2 separate regions of the Homo sapiens genome follow, and region 2 is linked to region 1. Evidence: promoter capture Hi-C in human tissues and cell types (Jung and others, 2019). All regions are on one chromosome and are shown on one strand. The core of a region is centred on a gene start or on the middle of the fragment in contact, and the rest is flanking DNA. Distances in the headings are between cores, read along the strand shown.

Region 1 (4,512 bases), core at 1,343-3,842:
CTCAGGGGCTGCAACTCAAAGCCCACTTCAAATGGGAAACACTATCCATCCGTCAATCCATTTATCTATCTTAGAACTCTCTTTCTATGACTTTCTTATTTTCAAAACAAACAAGGAATAAAGAAAGAAAAAAATGAAACAAGTAAACAAAAGACCTCTCATCTAGACTCTCTAACCACCCAACAAATCACATTGCTCCTCCTAGGAGGAAATGGTTGAGGTGTCAGACTGAGAATGACATCTATTTCCCTTCATGGGGAGAGCACTTGTTAATTCACCTATTAATTCACTTTTAAAATATAATTTTACATTTTATCAAAGTAATACATATACATAGTTTAAACATTCAAGTGGCACTCTAAGACTTACCACGAATAACAGCAATACAGTGCTATATCCCTTCCCATTGCCAAACTTTCTTCACAGAAAAAATCACTTTCATTTCTTTTAGCTTTTTTTTTTTCTGGGGTTTATTTCCATATCTATAAAGAACATGTTTATACTGCAATTTAATTTTTTTTTCAATTTTAGACATTATCTATTGACTTCTTACTAACTATGGAAGATAAAGACTGAAGTCTCTTACCAATTCTATACACAAACACACACATATGTGCATCCTTTCCTAACCCCATTCTTTCAATATAGTTATAACTTTTGTTAAATCCATTAATGTTTTCATTGTTGTGACTCTATAGTTATTCATAGCTGAGCCACATATTGGACTTTAAATATATTTTCTTATATAACATTTTCTTTTTCCTGGAATTAATAATTATGCCATTTTTTGGTTTCCTTAACTTACTGAGCCGATTACTCATCCTTCTCCAAACTTTCTAAGAGTGCTGCAAAACTTTTCAAGTTTCAACATCTGTCAGATCCATTGGGTCCCCTCCATGTATTTTTTCATTGGAAATATCCCTCCTTGAGCCTGGCGTCTGCCACTCACTTGGGCTAGTTGCTCTCCAAGCCTGTTGTACTCTTATCATCTTGGGATCTCCCTTGGCCACCATTCTTGGAATTCTCTCTCTTCTATTTGAAATTTGCTGTTTTTGGGAGCCCATTTTTCCTTTTTGTTTTGGCTTATGCTCTTGTTTTTGTAGTCACTTTTTTCAATAACATCTCGAAAATGGTCACATGGGAGATAAAGTTCTTGAAACTTGGCATGTTGGAAAATGCAGTTTCAAGAACGTTGTTTTACCTTTCTTTCTGATGGATCATTTGGATGGGTAGAGCATCCTAGGTGAGAAATAATTTTCCAATAGAGTTATAAAGGAATTGATCCATTGCTTTCTAACTTCTGGTTTTGTTATTAAGTCTAAAGCCATTCTCATCCTTGATCCTTTGTATGTGACTTATTTTTTTCCTATCTGGAAACATTTTTTTTCTGTTTATTCTTGATATTCTGAAACTTCACTGTTTTGTACTTCAGTGTAGATTTATTTTCATTTATTATGCTGTTTACAGTGGGCCCTTTCAATCTGGAAACAAATGTTCCTCAATTCTTGGGAATTTTATTGTATCACTTCTCTCATTATTTCTTTCCCTCCATTCCTCTGTTCTGTGCTTCTGTACTGCTGGTAGTCAGATGTTGGCTATTCTTCATCTCTTTGTCTTTTCTTCTATCTTCTGGAAGATTTCCTCAACTTTATTTTCTAGTCTTTAGACTTCAGCTCTCATATTTTGAATCTCCAAGAGTTCTTGTTCTCTAATTATGCCTTTATCATAGCATCCTATTCATATTTTGTGGGTACAACATTTTTTCTTATTTTCTATGAAGGTTTAACTAATATTTCTTTTAAAAAATATTCTGCTTTCTGCATTGCCTTTCTTTCAAGTTTTTTCCCCCCATCTGCTGTTGGGATGGGAGAAATTTAATGAATTTGGCTTTGTGGGGTTAGGATTAGGTAGTCTATTTCTTTTTCAGATTTTCAACCAATCTTATGATTTTTGTTTCAGAGGTATAGTCAATTCTCATTATTCCTTCATTATTCCTGGCAATTATGTTCAATAAAATCGCCACAAACACTGAATTAGAAAATACTGCTGAGCGTGGTGGCTCATGCCTGTAATCCCAGCACTTTGGGAGGCCGAGGCAGGTGGATCACCTGAGGTCAGGAGTTTGAGACCAGCCTGAACAACATGGAGAAACCCCGTCTCTACTAAAAATACAAAATCAGCTGGGCTTGGTGGCGCATGCCTGTAATCCCAGCTACATGGGAGGCTGGCCTGAGGCAGGAGAATCACTTCAACCCGGGAGGTGGAGGTTGCGGTGAGCTGAGATGGCGCAATTGCACTCCAGCCTAAGCAACAAGAGCGAAACTCTGTCTCAGAAGAAAAAAAAAAAGAAAAAAAGAAAATACTGAATTATTCTCTGTGGGGGAAATATAGAGTTAGGTGCCTGTGAGCCTCTGGTCACAACATTTTTGTCAGCTAATCAATACATAACCTTGTTTTGTGTGTGTTTCTGTTTAAAGACACCTTATTTAATATACATTGTTGATTCATCAACATTGAACTCATGGCTAATAACAGTACTATGACTCATGCCTGAATAGAGCTTATTTAACACACATATTTTCTCCATGAGGCACAGCCTCCTTCTGCTTAGGAACACCAGACAGCACTCCAGCACTCTGCTTGGGGGGCATTCGAAACAGCAAAATCACTCATAAAAGGCAAAAAATTGCAAAAAAAAATAGTAATAACCAGCATGGCACTAAATAGACCATGAAAAGACATGTGTGTGCAGTATGAAAATTGAGACAGGAAGGCAGAGTGTCAGCTTGTTCCACCTCAGCTGGGAATGTGCATCAGGCAACTCAAGTTTTTCACCACGGCATGTGTCTGTGAATGTCCGCAAAACATTGTGAGTATTGATTTGGGGGGTTACAAATAATTCCTAGCAAGTAGGTGAATTCACAAATAAGGAAGCTGTGAGTAATGAGGGTTGATTTTACCTACCTAGTGTCTCAAATCCTGAGCCGTATGAGATTCCGTGGCATAATTATGTTTGCTTATTGTTGGCAACCTTATTAGGCATTTCTAGGTTTCTGCTTTCTCATCTTTACCAGTTCAGTTATGGCTTGATTCATTTCTCTTTTTCCAAAGATTTGTTGACATCTCTTATTTGCTGTTGCCTCTTCCCATTTGTTTTGTCTTGTGGTTCTATATCTTTGCCATAATTTTTGTGGAGTTTCCTGAGAGAGTAGAGATAAATGTATATGCTCAATTGGTCTTGTCTTAACCAGAATTCTATTTAATACACAACACCTTTAGTGAGCTGTTATGCATGTAATAGGTGTTTACTAAGTATTGGTTGAATAAATTCAAGAAATGCTTGCTATTTTTGTGCTAGCATTTAGCTTTTCTCTATAGTATATTATAATGGAATTTTATTTTATTTTATTTTATTTATTTTTTGAGACAGAGTTTCACTCTTGTCGCCAGGTTGGAGTACAATGGCACGATCTTGGCTCACTGCAACCTCTGCCTCCCGGGTTCAAGCGATTCTCCTGCCTCAGCCTCCCGAGTAGCTGGGATTACAGGTGCCTGCCACCATGCCTGACTAATTTTTTTGTATTTTTAGTAGAGATGGGGTTTTGCCATGTTGGTCAGGCTGGTCTCAAACTCCTGACATCAGGTGATCCACCTGCCTCAGCCTCCCAAAGTGCTGGGATTACAGGCGTGAGCCACCACGCCTGGCTGGAATTTTAAATATCTCATAATTATAATCTTCTAGGTAAAAGACTAGCTCTCTTTCTCACCCTTATTCCTCCTACTTAGTGGAACATTGCCTAAGGAAGATGGGGAATGGGTTAAAAATTAAAATGTGGGGCTGGAAAGCATAGCTTGTTTTAAAACTTAGTTTTCTTTCCTTTTGCATCATAATCTCTTCCCCGGTCTATTTATTTCTCGTGGTTTTGTCAGTCCATTACAAACGGTTGCAAAATTGTGGTACTAGAAGGGATCCTAGAAATAATCTAATTTGAACCTTTGATTGCTAGGAAACTGAGAGTCAGGCTGCCTTGGTTCAAGTCTTGGCTCCACCACCCATGTAGGACATGTTGCTTACTGTTTTGACCTCAGTTTCCTTGCCTATAAAGTGGGAATAAAAATACTCCTGATGTTATAGGATTGTTGTGAAGATTAAAAGAGATAATTAATGTGAAGTTCTTAGTACTATGCCTGACACACAGTAAGAGCTCCACAAATTATTAATGATGATTATTACTAGTGGCTAAACTGAAGCTCTGGTTTCTCAGTTCAGTATGTTTTCCTTTAGACGTAAATAAGAATTTGTAAGCCTCTTTTTGGAGTCAGCTACCATTATTTTCTTTCCTTCATCTCCTTCATTGTCTAAAGACAGTTAACATGATTGCGTATTTCTCATTTCAAGCTAAAGATACTCTCACTGTTTCAGCTATTACCACATTTGTAAGGACTTCCTGAAGAGAAAATTTAAAAGTTAGTCACTTCTTTTAGTTGTTTCTGGTCTTTCAGATGATCCTT
Region 2 (4,512 bases), core at 1,017-3,516, 1.3 Mb after region 1:
TAACAATTTCAAATAAAGAAGGGGCACAGGCTGTGAGCATGTCCAACAGCTGCATAGGATAGGGCTTAACAAAGAGTTATTAACACAAAGCAAGGAGGCTTGAAGAAAGTTAGTCTTTAAAAGAAACTATTATTTCTAACACTTATGATTTATTCTTTAACAAGAAGGGAAACTTTGAAGAGGAAACTTTTTACTTTCTACACCTGGGAGGCAGAGGCTGCACTGAGCTGAGATCGCACCACTGCATTTCAGCCTGGGCAACAAAAGCGAAACTTCATCTCAAAAAAAAAGAAAAGAATACCAGTAATAACATGTCAGCTAATTTTATCTAAGTCAGTACAATATACCTGCTTTTCTGCACTTGTAGCTTTTCAGTGATTCCACATATGTGTACAGACGTATGACCATCCCATTATGCATTCTAGTGAAACCATGACTAAACATTTACACATTGAACTGTGTGTTTTATCAATTACTTCCAGTTTATTTACTATAGTAAATTAATGAACACAAAATGTTAATTATTGAAAGAAAAGGGAGGTGTTAGATCTGTCGAGTTGGCCAGGCCCAGTGGTTCACACCTGTAATCCTAGCACTTTTGGAAGCTGAGACAGGAAGATCACTTGAGGTCAAGAGTTCAAGATCAGCCTGGCCAACATGGTGAAACCTCGTCTCTACTAAAAATACAAAAATTAGCCAACATGGTGGTGCATACTTGTAATCCCAGCTACTTGGGAGGCTGAGGCAAGAGAATAGCTTGAACCCAGGAGGTGAAGGTTGCAGTGAGCTGAGATCGAGCCACGGCACTCCAGCCTGGGTGACAGAGCAAGACTCCGTCTCAAAAAAAAAGATCTGTAGAGTTGAGACCCACTGGCCTAGAGTAACAGCTTTTCACTTTTGGACCAATAGACCCCTTTCAGGATAGAATGAAAATTAGTAACAATCCCATCTACACGTAAGCAGAAACCTTTGCATAAACAGTCTGTGCTTTATTATATGCAAGTGAGCCCACTCTTGGGGATAGTTGGAAGATGGGGTAATGAAGGAAGGCATGTAAATAGTTTGATAACAGAAAACTATTTCACTCTTTCTCAGTTTGTACATTTAAATCCTTTCTCTACAATGGTTCTTGTCTGTCCCAGGACAAAATCTTAAGCATGTTTTGTAGTTTTTTTACTGTCAATTTTAGACAAGAAAAAGGCCAGTCCAGTTGAATAGTCCACATTCCAAACTGTCACCAATTCAAGTTCTCCTTCCGTCAAGCTCAAATATATTTCATGTTTTATTGTTTGGAAGGGAGGAAGCAGAAATAAAGAACAGAAAGGTCTTATACAGTTATAATCTGGTATTGGTGTCCTCTAGATTGAACGGATGTTAAATGCTGGTTTTTTCCCATAGAGAGTTTCTCTAGATACTCTCCCACTTTGAGAATTTCTTTGTAGAGATAAAGTCTCACTATGTTACCCAGGCTGGAGTGTAGTGGCTATTCATAGATGGGATCCTGGTGCTCTACAGCCTCGAATTCCTGAGCTCAAGGGATATTCCTGCCTCAACCTCCCAAGTAGCTGTGGTGTCCCGGGTGTAGGACACCACACCCAACCACTTTGAGAATTTCTAATGTTAAAAACCTTTTTTTAGGCCGGCGCAGTGGCTTACCTGTAATCCCAGCACTTTGGGAGCCCAAGGTGGGCAGATCACGAGGTCAAGAGATTGAGACTATCCTGGCCAACATGGTGAAGCCCCATGTCTACTAAAAATACAAAAATTAGCTGGGCATGCTAGCGCATGCCTGTAGTCCCACCTACTCAGGAGGCTGAGGCAGGAGAATAGCTTGAACGTGGGAGACAGGGGTTGCGGTGAGTCGAGATCACGCCATTGCACTCCAGCCTGGGCAACAAGAGCAAAACTCCGTCTCAAAAACAAACAAAAAAACAAAAAAACTGTTTTTTATGTAAAGCAATGATTCCTCCAGCTGGCCATGTGTGGTCTTCCCTTGGCCCCTGGTTTCCAGGAGTTTCCAGTGACCCACCTCTCTGCTGGAGTCACCACATCCTTACAAGTGGTCTTCTTGGTGCAAATCCAGCTCCCTTACCCCAGTCCATATTTGGCTTTGGCTTATGAATAACTCACGCATCCTCTGCCCCACCAACCACTGGGTGCAGACCGTTCCCAACACAGTCCCCTCTCTTAGCTCTTTTGTCAGAAAAGCAGGTCAATACAGCCTTGCTGAGTCAGGTGCTGTGTGGCTTCCAAGCTTCAGGGGAAAATGTGAACCTAGCTCACTTGTTCTTCTAAAGCCCTTTAAACAGGAGGCTTGGCGGGGCACGGTGGCTCACGCCTGTAATCCCAGCACTTTGGGAGGCCGAGGCGGGAGGATCACGAGGTCAGGAAATCGAGACCATCCTGGCTAACACGGTGAAACCCCGTCTCTACGAAAAATACAAAAAATTAGCCGGGCGGGGTGGCGGGCGCCTATAGTCCCAGCTACTCGGGAGGCTGAGGCAGGAGAATGGCGTGAACCCGGGAGGCGGAGCTTGCAGTGAGCCGAGATCGCGCCACTGCACTCCAGCCTGGGCGACACAGCGAGACTCCATCTCAAAAACAACAACAACAACAACAACAACAACAACAACAACAATAATAATAATAAACAGGAGGCTTAGCTTGAGAAGGGGCTAAGCTCTAGCCTCCCCTTGCCCATTGCCCAGGGCATTTGGCTAGTGGGGAGAGCATCACCACACTAATACAGTGTGTGTTTGAGATTCATTTATTTCCTACTTAGAACCAAATTTTGACTTCTATAAACAGAGATGAGGCCATGGGTATCTTGCTCCTTGTTGCATCCTCAGCATTTAGCCCAGTCCCTAAGTCAGAGTAGGTTGTATATGACTAACTGTTTAATGGATGAATTACTATGCCATTAGTAACTAAGTTTTCTGCTTGTAAGTTAAAGCAAAAAACAACACAGAAAATTTTAAGTAATTTTTCTGTTTTCATTTTCTTTTTCTCATCCTCCAATTTTACTTTTTCATTCCAATTCTACTTTTCTCTTAACCTTTGATACACCAACTTTTTTTCCTCAAATTGTCTTTTTTCACCCATTCATTTTACACTTCTAGAAGTTTGGCTGGATTCACCTTTTGCAGTAGAAAAGAATGCTAACTGCAAGGAGACTTCCCAGAGTCTTCCTCAGATTGCCTTTCATTATGCTGACGTGAAAAGAGCTTCTGCTTTGGGTGATAGAGGAAAATTGGATAGGATAAATTGCTTCCTTTTCAATTATATTCCACAAAAAGGATCCTGCTTTTAAGGGAAACTTATTTATAGACAGAGCCAGTGATTCTGATTCTTCTTTGGGCTAGCCATGCTGTTGACACAAAAAGAAAAACACCAGAATTGTTACACTTACCTTATAGGTTGTTTCAGATGGCCAGTTTCTTTACCAAAAGCTGAAGGTCTTCCTCAATAGACTTTGGAGATCATGGATGAAAGAAAACACTGCATTGTATCAGTCAACTTACAGGACAAGGGCCCTGAATTCATAGGTGCTCCTTAGGATGAAAATGACAGAAACCCAATACAAACTAGTAAAGAAGTAAAGAAAATGTATTTACTTCCATTACTGTGAAGTTCAGAGATGATCACTGCTTCAGGAAGGAAGGACTACATTCAAAGACTAAAAAATATGTCAATGCTCTGATTATTTTTGTTTCTGAGAGCTACATGGCAGACAATAGAAATCCCAGATTTTGTCGACTGGTGATCCCACATTTACAACCTCTCAGTTTTAGTAACCCCAGTAGAAAGAGAATGTCTTTATGAGAGCATCTCTGGCAAAGTCCTACACAAGGTTATAATTGGTCAAGCTTGAGTCACATCCTCAAATTGACACTGTGGCCATGAAGATGGAATTTTTTCTTTTTTTTCTTTTTTTTTTTTTGAGATGGAGTTTTACTCTGTGGCCCAGGCTGGAGTGCAGTGGTGCAATCTCAGCTCACTGCAACATCTGCCTCCCCGGTTCAAGCAATTCTCCTGCCTCAGCCTCCCGAGTAGCTGGGATTACAGGTGTGTGCCACCATGTCTGGCTAATTTTTTGTATTTTTAGTAGAGATGGGATTTCACCATGCTGGCCAGGCTGGTCTCGAACTCTTGACCTCGTGATCCACCCTCCTCAGCCTCCCAAAGTGCTGTGATAACAGGAGTGAGCCAACATGCCCGGTCGAAGATGGTATATTATCCTTTTTTTTTTTTTTTGTTTTGAGATGGAGTCTTGCTTTGTTGCCCAGGCTGGAGTGCAGTGGCACTATCTCGGCTGACTGCAAGCTCCACCTCCCAGGTTCACGCCATTCTCCTGCCTCAGCCTCCCGAGAAGCTGGGACTACAGGTGCCCGCCACCACGCCCAGCTAATTTTTTCTGTATTTTTTGTAGAGACGGGGTTTCACCGTGTTAGCCAGGATGGTCTCGATCTCCTGACCTCGTGATCCGCCCGCCTTGGCCTCCCAAAGTGCTGG

The links. Contacts are between HindIII fragments. The study calls those that stand out against the background at their distance.
Region 2: a contact is called between a fragment that was not itself captured here and the fragment with the promoter of IL31RA in region 1, in 1 of the 25 tissues and cell types used here (pancreas).

The regions. Positions count from the first base shown.
Region 1 is chr5:55,848,765-55,853,276 of GRCh38, forward strand. IL31RA (interleukin 31 receptor A) reads left to right here and starts at 2,593. Exons shown (of 15, transcript NM_139017.7): 1 at 2,593-2,869. The coding sequence starts at 2,807. The HindIII fragment of the contact is 16,782 bases long and covers 1-4,512 here.
Region 2 is chr5:57,158,133-57,162,644 of GRCh38, forward strand. No RefSeq gene overlaps it. Among named protein-coding and RNA genes, the nearest start is that of GPBP1, 14 kb to the right of the region's middle. The HindIII fragment of the contact is 4,747 bases long and covers 1-4,512 here.